Linked DNA regions of Homo sapiens: all the other regions are linked to region 1. Evidence: promoter capture Hi-C in 16 types of primary human blood cells and fetal thymus (Javierre and others, 2016). All regions are on one chromosome and are shown on one strand. Each heading gives the region's core, a stretch centred on a gene start or on the middle of the fragment in contact. The rest is flanking DNA. Distances are from core to core; before and after follow the strand shown. Region 1 holds the start of UBE2F-SCLY (UBE2F-SCLY readthrough (NMD candidate)). Region 2 overlaps ASB1 (ankyrin repeat and SOCS box containing 1). Region 3 holds the start of TRAF3IP1 (TRAF3 interacting protein 1).

Region 1 (3,413 bases), core at 328-2,827:
CTCAATCCAAGCATAAAGGATGGGACTGCGGGTCACTAGGGGACACTCAACTTCCCCAGCCAAAGGGGCCCCGATCAGGGCACAACAAAGTCCACATCCCACTCTTCTACAGAATGCCAGTGCCCAGGAACCTCCTGCTCGGCACAGGAGTACGCTGGTTGACCGACCATCTTTGGAGCCCAGCCCCTTTTACGTTCAGCAGTAAACCTGCCCCTTCCTGCACTGCCTACTACCTGAAAGGCAGGTATGTCCAGGTGGGGGGTCCTCAAGCCCCACAGCACTAAGCTTGGTGTGATTCTGTCTCTCAATCTCTCTCTCTCTCCCACCTCTATGCTCCCCCTTGCCTTCATCTCACTCCTCAGCCAGGATTCCTCTGCACCAGGCAGGCCAGTTTCCTCTTTGTTCCTTCACAACACCCTGTTCATTTCCAGAAGCTTCTATTCAGTCTGATACCCAGGTCTAGAATGCCCTCCTTCCCTTCACAAACGAATCCTACCCCTTCCTTAAGGGGAAGATTCCTACCTACATCCCAACATCTCCTCCTCCAAGAAGCTTTCTCTGGCTATTCCAACCCATCCTGCCCCCACTTCCAGGCGGTCGGGAATGCAGAGTGGGGGGACCCAATTCTCTCCTGTGACAGATGAGGAAACTGAGCCCAGGGAGGGGAAGGCCACACCCAAGATGACACACCAGCAGAACTAGGTCTGGAACCAAGACTCTGCTGCACTAATTGTTCCAAGATGCCCTTCCTTCCTCGTCTCCTTTGCTGTGGTAAAAATTTTCCAAACTAGCCTGGCCGCCCCCAGTTGTAGGTAAGCGTCCATACTTACTCTTCCCGCTGCAGGTACGAGGACCGGGCGCGAGTTGTCACTCCCCTCACCTCCCCCGCTCCTCACGGCCTAGCGCGACTCCTGCCCCGATCGGGAGTCCAGTCCCGGTTTCTGCGGCCACGTCGGGCCGGTGACCTTGGCCAGGCGCTGGACGCCCCGCTTCCTCCGTACAAGGCAGGCAGCCGATCCCGCGAGTGGGGCGTGAGCGCGGCCAGGTCTGTGCCACGCTCGGCCCAGGGCCTGGTTCACACCAGGTGCTCGGCGCGGGCCGTCCCCCGCCGCCGCCGCCGCGGTCACTCACTGCCGGGCGAGGCCAGCGCCCCGGCCGCCGACGCCGCCTCCGACCCCCGGCTCGCGGCCCGCGGCCCGCGGCCCCTTCCCATTCACGCCGCTCGGCCTCGCGTCCGGGTGCCCGCGCCCGCCAGGCCCCCGGCGTGAGGAACCCGGCGGGCCCGAGGCGGCCCCGCCACCGCCCGCGCCCTCCGCCCGGCCCGCAGGCCAGCCCGTGCACCGGCGGCCGCACCTCGCCCCGCCGCAGAGCCGCACGGTCGCTCCTCACCTGGGCTCCCCGAGACAGGCGAGGCGGGCCCGGCGCCCAACACCATGCCCGGTCCGGGCGGCTGCTGCGAGACGCGGCCCCTCACAGCCGCACCGGCTCCCGGCGGCGGGACCGGAAGTGGCGGGGCGGGGACTCGGCCGCTCTCGCCCGCGGCAGCCGAGACAGCAGCGGGCGCTTTAAAAAAAAAATTCAAAGTCGCGAAAAACTTTATTTGGAACCAGACACGCGAACAGCGGCGTGCGCCGATCGGGACTGGGCTGGGCGACGGGCCTCTCGGACCTCGCTCATTGGCAGAGGGCGCGGCCAGGGGGCGGGCACGGATTTCGCAACCGCCGCTGATTGGCGAGTAGCGTTAGGGGCGGGGATTCCGAGTTGGCTCTGGAGCCCGAGCGCCGGAGGGCTGGGGGTTTTGCACCTGGTTCCAACACGGGTTCACTTCGTGGTCTGCAGGGTTTAGGGGCACGGAGGAGCCCGGGCTATCCTTCCCTGAAGGAGCGGCCTCCGTGGCTGGAGCTCCCGCTGTCCAGCGCCGCACCTGGAGTGCAAAGGACTGGACAGGCCCCCGCAGCCTGCAGTGCAGGCGGTGAGGGAGACCGGGCGGTCAGACACGCAAGCCACGACCAACCCCAAACCGTGTGCTGCGCCCACAGGCCCCACTGTTCTTGTCATGTCCCTTTTATTCCTTCTTTTCTCTCTTAAATGTGTTTAAAGTACCTTAAAAATCCATTTCAACTTGTCCTCTTTTGGGCGCCCAGATTCATCCCGCGCCCATTAGCGTCCTGTGTGATTGACGAGGGGCCGTCCTGGGCGTCAGGCAGGCCCCTGGAGGAGTGGGCCATTAGAAAGATGAGGTTCAGCATGGAAACGGTCAGAAAGAGACAAGGAGTTAGACTTTCATTTCGAAAAACCCCACTGAGAGGTTTCTAACAGTGGAGTGACTATCAGGTTTTCTTCCTAAAGGAGGCTGGCGGGCCCGGTGGCTCACGCCTGTAATCCTAGCACTTTGGGAGGCCAAAGTGGGAGGATCCCATGAGCCCAAGAGTTTAAGACCAGCCTCCTGATGGTGGCAAGACCCCATCGCTACAAAAAAAGAAAAAAAAAATTAGCCGCGTGGTGGCGCGCGCCTGTAGTCCCAGCTACTCAGGAGGCTGGGATGGGAGGATCACCTGAGCCCAGGAGGTTGAGGCTGCAGTGAGCCGTGATCGCACCACTGCACTCCAGCTTGGGTGACAGGGCAGACCCTGTCCCCATAATAATAATAAAGGCTTTGGCTCTAAGTGAGTCGGTGGGAATGGAGTCAGGAAAACTGGTCAAGAACACAACTCAGCCGGGCGCAGTGGCTCAGGCCTGTAATCCCAGCACTTTGGGAGGCCGAGGCAGACAGATCACCTGAGGTCAGGAGTTCAAGACCAGCCTGGCCAACATGGCAAAACCCCATCTCTACTAAAAATACAAAAAAGCCGGGCGTGGTGGTGCGCCCTTGTAATCCCAGCTATTTGGAACGCTGAGGCAGGAGAATTGCTTGAACCCAGGAGGCGGAGGTTGCAGTGAGCTGACACTGCACTCCAGTCTGGGTGACACAGCAAGACTGTTTCCAGAAAAAAAAGAAAAAAGAAAGAACACAACTTGTGTTATTTCTTGTGTTTGGGACCATGTCTCTCCCTTTTTTGCCCGGCTAACTCTCAAGTTTTCCTAAGCTAAGACACCAACTTCTGATAGGCCTCAAAGCCTGGGGGTGGGGTGGGGCAGTGCAGGTGCCCTCTGTGTCTTCCTTGGAGCCCTGCACTTCCCTCTTCCTTATTGTCATGGCCTGTTTCCCTGACTAAGCTCAGCTCCTCAGCCCTCCTCTTCCTTCTTCCTCCAGCGTCACCTCCTGCCACCCCCTTTCCCATCCTGGAACATGCAGGTGATTAAAACACATCTGCTGGATAGAGATTGCATGCGCTGGCGGCATGAGTCCTGGTGAGAGGAGATAAGGGCTTGAAGATTGCAGTGTGTGAAGGTGCAGCCGGAATGGCGTGAGC
Region 2 (3,413 bases), core at 914-3,413, 460 kb before region 1:
CCTGGGCAGCGCCGCTCACCTCCGGTAGCTCTCCTCTTGCAATAGGCTCCTGAGGGTCTGGAGGTCCCCGACGTAAGCTGCATCATGGAGCCTCGTGTCCTCACAGTGCTCCAGCGGATGATCACAAAATTGCTCCCTCAGCCACTCCTTCAGATTACGACCTGCACTGAAGAGAGGGGCTCCTGTTAGCTCATGGAGGCCCTGCCAAGACTAACCAAAAGGGGGTGCCATCTGCAGCGAGCCTTCCCTCTCCCAGCTACGGGGCACCTTCAAATGCTCAAGAAATAAATCACAAGCTGGGCATGGTGGCACGCCTGTAATCCCAGCTACTCAGGAGGCTGAGGCAGGATCACTTGAGGCCAGGAGTTCAAGATCAGCCTGGGCAACACAGCAATACCCTGTCTGTAAAAACAAAAGAAATAAATCACAGAAAATAGTAGAAACCTTCCCTTATTAAATTAGCACACTCCTGACACCAACGCTGACAAGAATAATTTTTTAAAAGTTGATGGGGCCCAGGAACTATAAGCCAAACCTACTGAAGAATAAAGAAACAAGATCCTAAAGAAAATATCAGCAGATTGAATCAATATTGTGTCAAAGAATCCACTGATAAGGCAAACCTGAAGAATACGGATGCAAGATCCTAAAGAAAAAATTAGCAGATTGAGCCAGGTGAGGTGGCTCACGCCTGTAATCCCAGAACTTTGAGAGGCCGAGGCGGGCAGATCACGAGGTCAAGAGATCAAAACCATCCTGGCCAACATGGTGAAACCCCATCTCTACTGAAAATACAAAAAATTAGCTGGGCGTGGTGCCGCGCACCTGTAGTCCCAGCTACTCAGGAGGCTGAGGCAGGAGAATTGCTTGGACCCAGAGGCAGATGTTGCAGTAAGCCAAGATCGCGCCACTGCACTCCAGAGCCTGGCGACTGAGTGAGACTCGGTCTCAAAAAAAAAAAGAAAAAGAAAAAAGAAAATATCAGCAGATTGAATCAATATTGTATCAAAGAATCTAGCAAATATCTTAGTACTGGTATTTGGGAATATCTTAATACTGGGCAACTATGAAGGAGAACATAGTCATCTCCTTCACTACAAAAAAGACATACGGCAAAATCCAACGGCTGAGCAAATGCTGCTATCTGCTACACGGGTGACTCCCTCCCACGCTGCCCTGGGCAACGGCCACAGGGAGGCCTGCCTAAGAAACTCCTCAGACAGGTGCACTTGACCATAGAGAAGTCCCACCTCAATAAAAACGAAGGTTAAAAACACATGTACATAAATATAAATCCAGCCCATTTAATGAAGACTATAAAACTCAAAAACAACACAAAAGAACAGAATAAGCAGAAAAAACACCAAGTACTTGGATTAAAAGATTCAATAATCAAGGAATTTTAAATAAAGCGTGACCCATTTCTTTGGGATTTTGTTATCAGATGTCACAAAAAATATTCTAAAGTTTATTTTAAAATATAAGGGAGAAGAACTTTTTTGGTTTTTAGTAAGTGTACAGAGAAAAGACCTACCCTACTAGGTAACAGAACACTCATCAGAATAAAAAAGAAAATCAAACCATCAGCTGCCCAGAAAGATCTCAGTATAAACAACCTAATACCGGCAGCCTTCATTTCACTGCATTTCACTTTATCAAGCTTCACACGTAATTGTGTTTTTTTACAAACTGAAGGTTTGTGGCAACCCTGTGCTGAGCAAGTCTTTTGGAGCTATTTGTCCAACAGGATGTGTCCATTTTGTGTCTTCTGGGTCACAATCTGGTAATTCTTGCAATATTTCAAACTTTTTCATTATTATTTTATCTGTTATGGTGATGAATGATTTGTGATGTTACTATTGTAATTGTTTTGGGGTGCCACAAACTGTGCCATATGAGACAATGAACTTAATCCATCAACGTGGTCTGTGTTCTGACTGCTCCACCAACCAGCTGCTCCCACTCTCTCCTCAGGCCTCCCTGTTCCCCAGACACAATATTGAAATTAGGCTAATTAATAACCCTACAACAGCTTCTGAGTGTTCAAGTTAAAGAAACAGTCACACATCTCTCACTTTAAATTAAAAGCTGGAAATGATTAATTTTAATGAGAAAGGCATGTGGAAAGCTGGGAAGGTTCAAAGATAGGCCTCTTGTGCCAAACAGCCAAGTTGTGAATGCAAAGGAAAAAGAGCTTGAGGGAAATTAAAAGTGCTACCCCTGTAAACACACAATTGATAAGAAAGCAAAACAGCCTTATTGCTGATATAGAGGAAATCTGAGTAGTCTGGAGATACGATCAAACCAGCCACAACATTCCCTTAGGCCAAAGCCTAATCCAGAGCAAGGCCCTAACTCTCTCCAATTCTATGAAGCCTGAGAGAGCTGAGGAAGGTGCAGAAGCAAAGAGTGAAGGTAGCAGAGGTTGGTTCACGAGGTTTAAAGAAGCCATCTCCATCACACAAAAGTACAAAGTGAAGCAGCAAGTGCTGCTGTGGATGCTGCAGCAAGTTATCCAGAAGACACGGCTAAGATAATTGATGAAGGTGGCTATACTAAACAACAGATTTTCAATGTAGAAGAAACAGCCTTCTATTGGAAAAAAAGATGCCATCTAGGACTTTCATAGCTAGAGAGGAGAAGGCAATGCCTAGCGTCAAAGCTTTAAAGGACAAGCTGACTCTCGTTAGGGGCTAACGCAGCTGGTGACTTTAAGTGGAAGTCAGTGTTCATTCACCATTCCAAAACTCCTGCCTGCGCACTATAAATGGATCAACAAAGCCCAGGTGGCAGCACATCTGTTCACAGCATGGTTAGTGAATATTTTCAGCCCAATGTTGAGACTTACTGCTCACAAGATTCCTTTCAAAATACTACTGCTCGCTGACAATATGCCTAGTCACCGAAGAGCTCTCATGGAGATGTACAAGATTCATGCTGTTTTCATGCCTGCGAACACAGCCATTCCGCAGCCAATGGATCAAGGAGTCATTCTGACTTTCACGTGTTATCATCATTTAATACATTTTGTCAGGCTATCGCTGCCATAGGTAGTGGTTCCTCTCATGGATCTGCGCAAAAATGAACTGAAAGCCTTCTGGAAAGGATTCACCAATCTAGATGTCATTTAGAACATTTGTGATTCATGGGAGGTCAAAATATCAAAAGGAGTTTGAAAGAAGTTAATTCCAACCCACATGGATGACTTTGAGGGGCTCAAGACTTAAATGGAGGAAGTAACTGCAGATGCAGTGGAAATCACAAGAGAACTAGAATTACAGCCTGAAGATGTGACTGAACTGCTGCAATCGCATGATCAAACTTGAATGGATGAGCAAAGAAAGCAGTTTCTTGAGATGAAATCCACTCCTGGTGAAGATGCTGTGGACACTGTCATAATGACAACAAAGGAT
Region 3 (3,413 bases), core at 646-3,145, 350 kb before region 1:
CCAGCCCATGTTCCTCCTCCTCTCCCATTAGGATTCCTCTGACCAACTATGCGGTAGTGACTGGACAGCCACCGTGAGCTGAGCGCCATCACTGCCCCACAAGGATAAGGCACACTCCCTGCACCTCCCTCCTGGGGCTCTGCATTTCAGTGGGACAGACAGGCCTGGGAGAATAAAGGTTTTGGCAGCCACAGCTAGAGTGGGCTGGGCTCACACTGGCTCTTGTTCCCTCTGGGTCAGAGGACGGGTACCCGCCTACTTCACGGGACGGTGGTGATGCGGCACATTGTCCCCCTCCCACCGGGCTATCCACACAGCAGGTCCTCTCCCCACACACTGTCCAGGACAGGCTGTAAGTGCTGCACCAGCTGGGAGGACATGACCAGGGCTGGCGAGGCCCTGGGATGTGGGTGGATTCGAGAGCATTTTTAGGCACTGTTTTAACACAGAGGCACACGCTCCAGGAGACCACACGTTATAAGCTAAGGTAGGAGGGCAGAACCAGTAAAGCAAAGTCTGTGCAAGAATAAGGCACCCAACCTGTTGAAAAGAGTGAGAAACAGAGCTTGAGGACCATCACCAGGTGAGGTCATGAGGCCCTGGAAGTCTGCAAGTCCAACCTGAATCCTAAATCCCAAAACACACCTCTGAGTTCCCACGTGCCCTTGGGTCCACCATGGAAATGGGTGCTGCGCCCGCTGCAGTGACGCTCCTGAGAGTTACCAGGGAGTTACCACGAGCCTTGACAGGTCCCACTCAACAGGGGATGTTTGTTGTGCAATTTCTATGTACCTTACCCAGTGCAGATCACCAGAGCCATGCTAATAAGCAAGCCAGGGTCTCCGTCACGGAGGAGCACACCATCCGCAAGTGGAAAAAGCTACAGAGACCACCAATCTCAACGTAGGGCAGGCTGTGCAGCTCTGTTACAGTCTTTCCTGCCAAGTCCCCCTACAGCCGCCTCCACTAAATCCACCCGCAGGCATTTATTAAGCACCCAAAATGTGGTATGGAGGGAAACTTTGGGGCAGAAGGGTTGTATAAAAAATATTATTTCCATTCTCCCAGGATTTAGGGAGTGCCTTCCACGTGCTACATACTTCAGGGCAAGCGAGAGGGGTTCTGCAAGGTTAGACGAGGCAGGAGTCACAGAAGCAGCTCTGCCAGCAATAATGGAAGATGCACTCTAAGGAAATACAAGGGCAGGCAGGGAAGAAGTAAGAATGCTCCTGAGGGCCCGGAGCCTCCTTGTAAGCGGCGGCCCGGAGCCGGGGGAGGGGCAGGACCTCCTCACGGAGGGCGCCGCGGAATTGGGCCTACAGGCCGGGCTCCCAGGCAGGGGCCGCACAGAACTCTCGCCCCGACCCCGGAACTGACCCCGGCCCCCGACCCGCACCCTGTGCCCGGCCCACACCCGGCCCTGAACAGGTCCCCGACCTGCACCCCGAGCCCGGCCCACACCCGGTTCACACCCGGCCCGGGCCCCGACTCCGGCCCAGCCCCGGCCCCCGACCCGCACCTGAGCCCGAGCCCGGCTCGCACCCGGCGCCACCCGGCCCGGGCCCTGACCTCGGCGCCCACCGGAATCCCGACCCGCACCTGGCCGGGCCCGGTCCCCGGCGCCCACCTCCGTGATGATGTCGTGCAGGTAGCGGAACGGGGGCTTGCTCAGCAGCTTCTCGGTCAGCGGCGGCCTCCGAATCACTTTCCCCAGCGCCTCCTGCGTCCGCCTCACCACCGCCGCGTTCATGACGGCGTCCGCCGCCCGCTGGCCGCCCGCGCCCCTCAGCCGGCCTGGCCGAGCCTAAGCCCGGGTCCCTGGCCGCCGCCGGCCCCGCCGCCGCCGCCGCCCGGTCCTGCCAGGACGCGCCGCTCCGGTTTCCATCCCACAGTGCACCGGAGCCCACCACAGCGCCTGCGCGGCCGCCGCAGGGCGTTCGGTCACTAGGGCTGCGCGGCCTTAGCAACGGACGCGCCGCGGCGCCCCGCCCCCTGCCCGCCTTCCAGCGCCCGCGCAGGCAGGAGTGGGGGTTCCGCGGGAGGGATTTGCGGGAGTGCGGCTGTGCCAGAGCAGGCGGGGCGCGGCGGGGCGGGGAAAGGGGATCTGGGATCGGGCGCCTGGCCCCTCCTCTGCCGAGCGACGGCCTCGGGAAGCCGGTGTTCGCTCGCGTTAGAGGCGACTGCCTGAGGACTGATTAAGAACAAGGTAACCTCCAAGATCTGTGCCGCCTGTTTCCCAAATCTCAAGGGCTTTCGAAGGCACTGGTTCATCGGAGGGGACGGCACTAAGTTATCCCAAAACACACGGAATAGAAAATACGCTGTCCTGGCTGGTAATTAATAAGGCTTCTTGGGCAAGTCACCTGTTTTCTCTGAGACTTCACTTCTGCTCCCACAAAGCAGGACTAGTGTGCCCGCTGCCTAACCCACCTCCCAAGAAGGTAAATGGTGACTAAATGCTGTGTCGGTGCTCTGAAACCGGGACAAAGCCATGCCTAGTTGTCCTACTAGGTGTCCGTGATTCTTTACCACCTGTCCTCTGTCCATCATGCACAGGCCTACCGCAGAAATCCTTCCGGCGATTTGAGAGCTCTGGGGTCTGTAGTTCTTCTAATGAGAACACCATTATAACCTTTTTTTTTTTTTGAGACGAAGTCTGACTCTGTCGCCCAGGCTGGAGTGCAGTGGCACGATCTTGGCTCACTGCAACCTCCACCTCCCAGGTTCAAGTGATTCTCCTGCCTCAGCCTCATGAGTAGCTGCGACTTCAGGCTCCCGACACCACACCAGCCTCGCTTTTGCATTATTAGTAGAGACGGGGTTTCACCATGTTGGCCAGGCAGGTCTGGAACTCCTGACTTCAGGCAATCCGTCCGCATCGGCCTCCCAAAGTGCTGGTATTACAGGTGTGCGCGACCGCCCCCATTATAACTTTTAAATTGACCTTCATTTTTACCATTTTCAGGCCTCCTCATTTTTTGTGGAGATCTAAATCGCCATCTGGTGTCATACCCCTCCTGTCTGAAGAACTTCCTTTAATATTTCTTCTAGCACAGTTCAGTTGGTAATGGAAAAGTTATACAGACAACCAATTTCAATGCCAGTCAGGCTGTATGGTTTATCAACAAATACTAAATTGCATTTTTATAGTTTTCCTTCCATGTCCCCCTATAACCACCTCCAGTAAATTCAGCCACAAATATTTATTAAGCATAGAAGTATAGAATTCTAGAGTTGGGAGGTCAGGAGTTCGAGACCAGCCTGACCAACATGGTGAAACCCCGTCTCTACTTAAAATACAAAATATTAGCTGGGTGCAGAGGCGGGCGCCTGTAATCCCAGCTACCAGGAAGGCTGAGGCAAGAGAATCACCTGAACCCAGGAGACAGAGCTTGCAGTGAGCCGAGGTCATG

Evidence for each region. Contacts are between HindIII fragments. The CHiCAGO score rates a contact against its expected background, and 5 or more counts as called.
Region 2: a contact is called between a fragment that was not itself captured here and the fragment with the promoter of UBE2F-SCLY in region 1, in 1 of 17 cell types (total B cells). The highest score is 5.2, in total B cells.
Region 3: a contact is called between the fragment with the promoter of TRAF3IP1 here and the fragment with the promoter of UBE2F-SCLY in region 1, in 1 of 17 cell types (naive B cells). The highest score is 5.3, in naive B cells.

The regions. Positions count from the first base shown.
Region 1 is chr2:237,965,109-237,968,521 of GRCh38, reverse strand. UBE2F-SCLY (UBE2F-SCLY readthrough (NMD candidate)) reads right to left here and starts at 1,577. Exons shown (of 19, transcript NR_037904.1): 1 at 1,390-1,577. It overlaps UBE2F (ubiquitin conjugating enzyme E2 F (putative)), which reads right to left and starts at 1,508. Exons shown (of 10, transcript NM_080678.3): 1 at 1,390-1,508. RefSeq lists a silencer at 1,285-1,464 and a cis regulatory region at 2,981-3,413. The HindIII fragment of the contact is 5,181 bases long and covers 555-3,413 here.
Region 2 is chr2:238,430,302-238,433,714 of GRCh38, reverse strand. ASB1 (ankyrin repeat and SOCS box containing 1) reads right to left here. Exons shown (of 5, transcript NM_001040445.3): 2 at 20-161. Among named protein-coding and RNA genes, the nearest start is that of ASB1, 5.1 kb to the right of the region's middle. The HindIII fragment of the contact is 1,002 bases long and covers 1,663-2,664 here.
Region 3 is chr2:238,319,000-238,322,412 of GRCh38, reverse strand. It overlaps TRAF3IP1 (TRAF3 interacting protein 1), which reads right to left and starts at 1,895. Exons shown (of 17, transcript NM_015650.4): 1 at 1,628-1,895. The coding sequence starts at 1,750. RefSeq lists silencers at 1,402-1,631, 1,762-2,241. The HindIII fragment of the contact is 10,073 bases long and covers 1-3,413 here.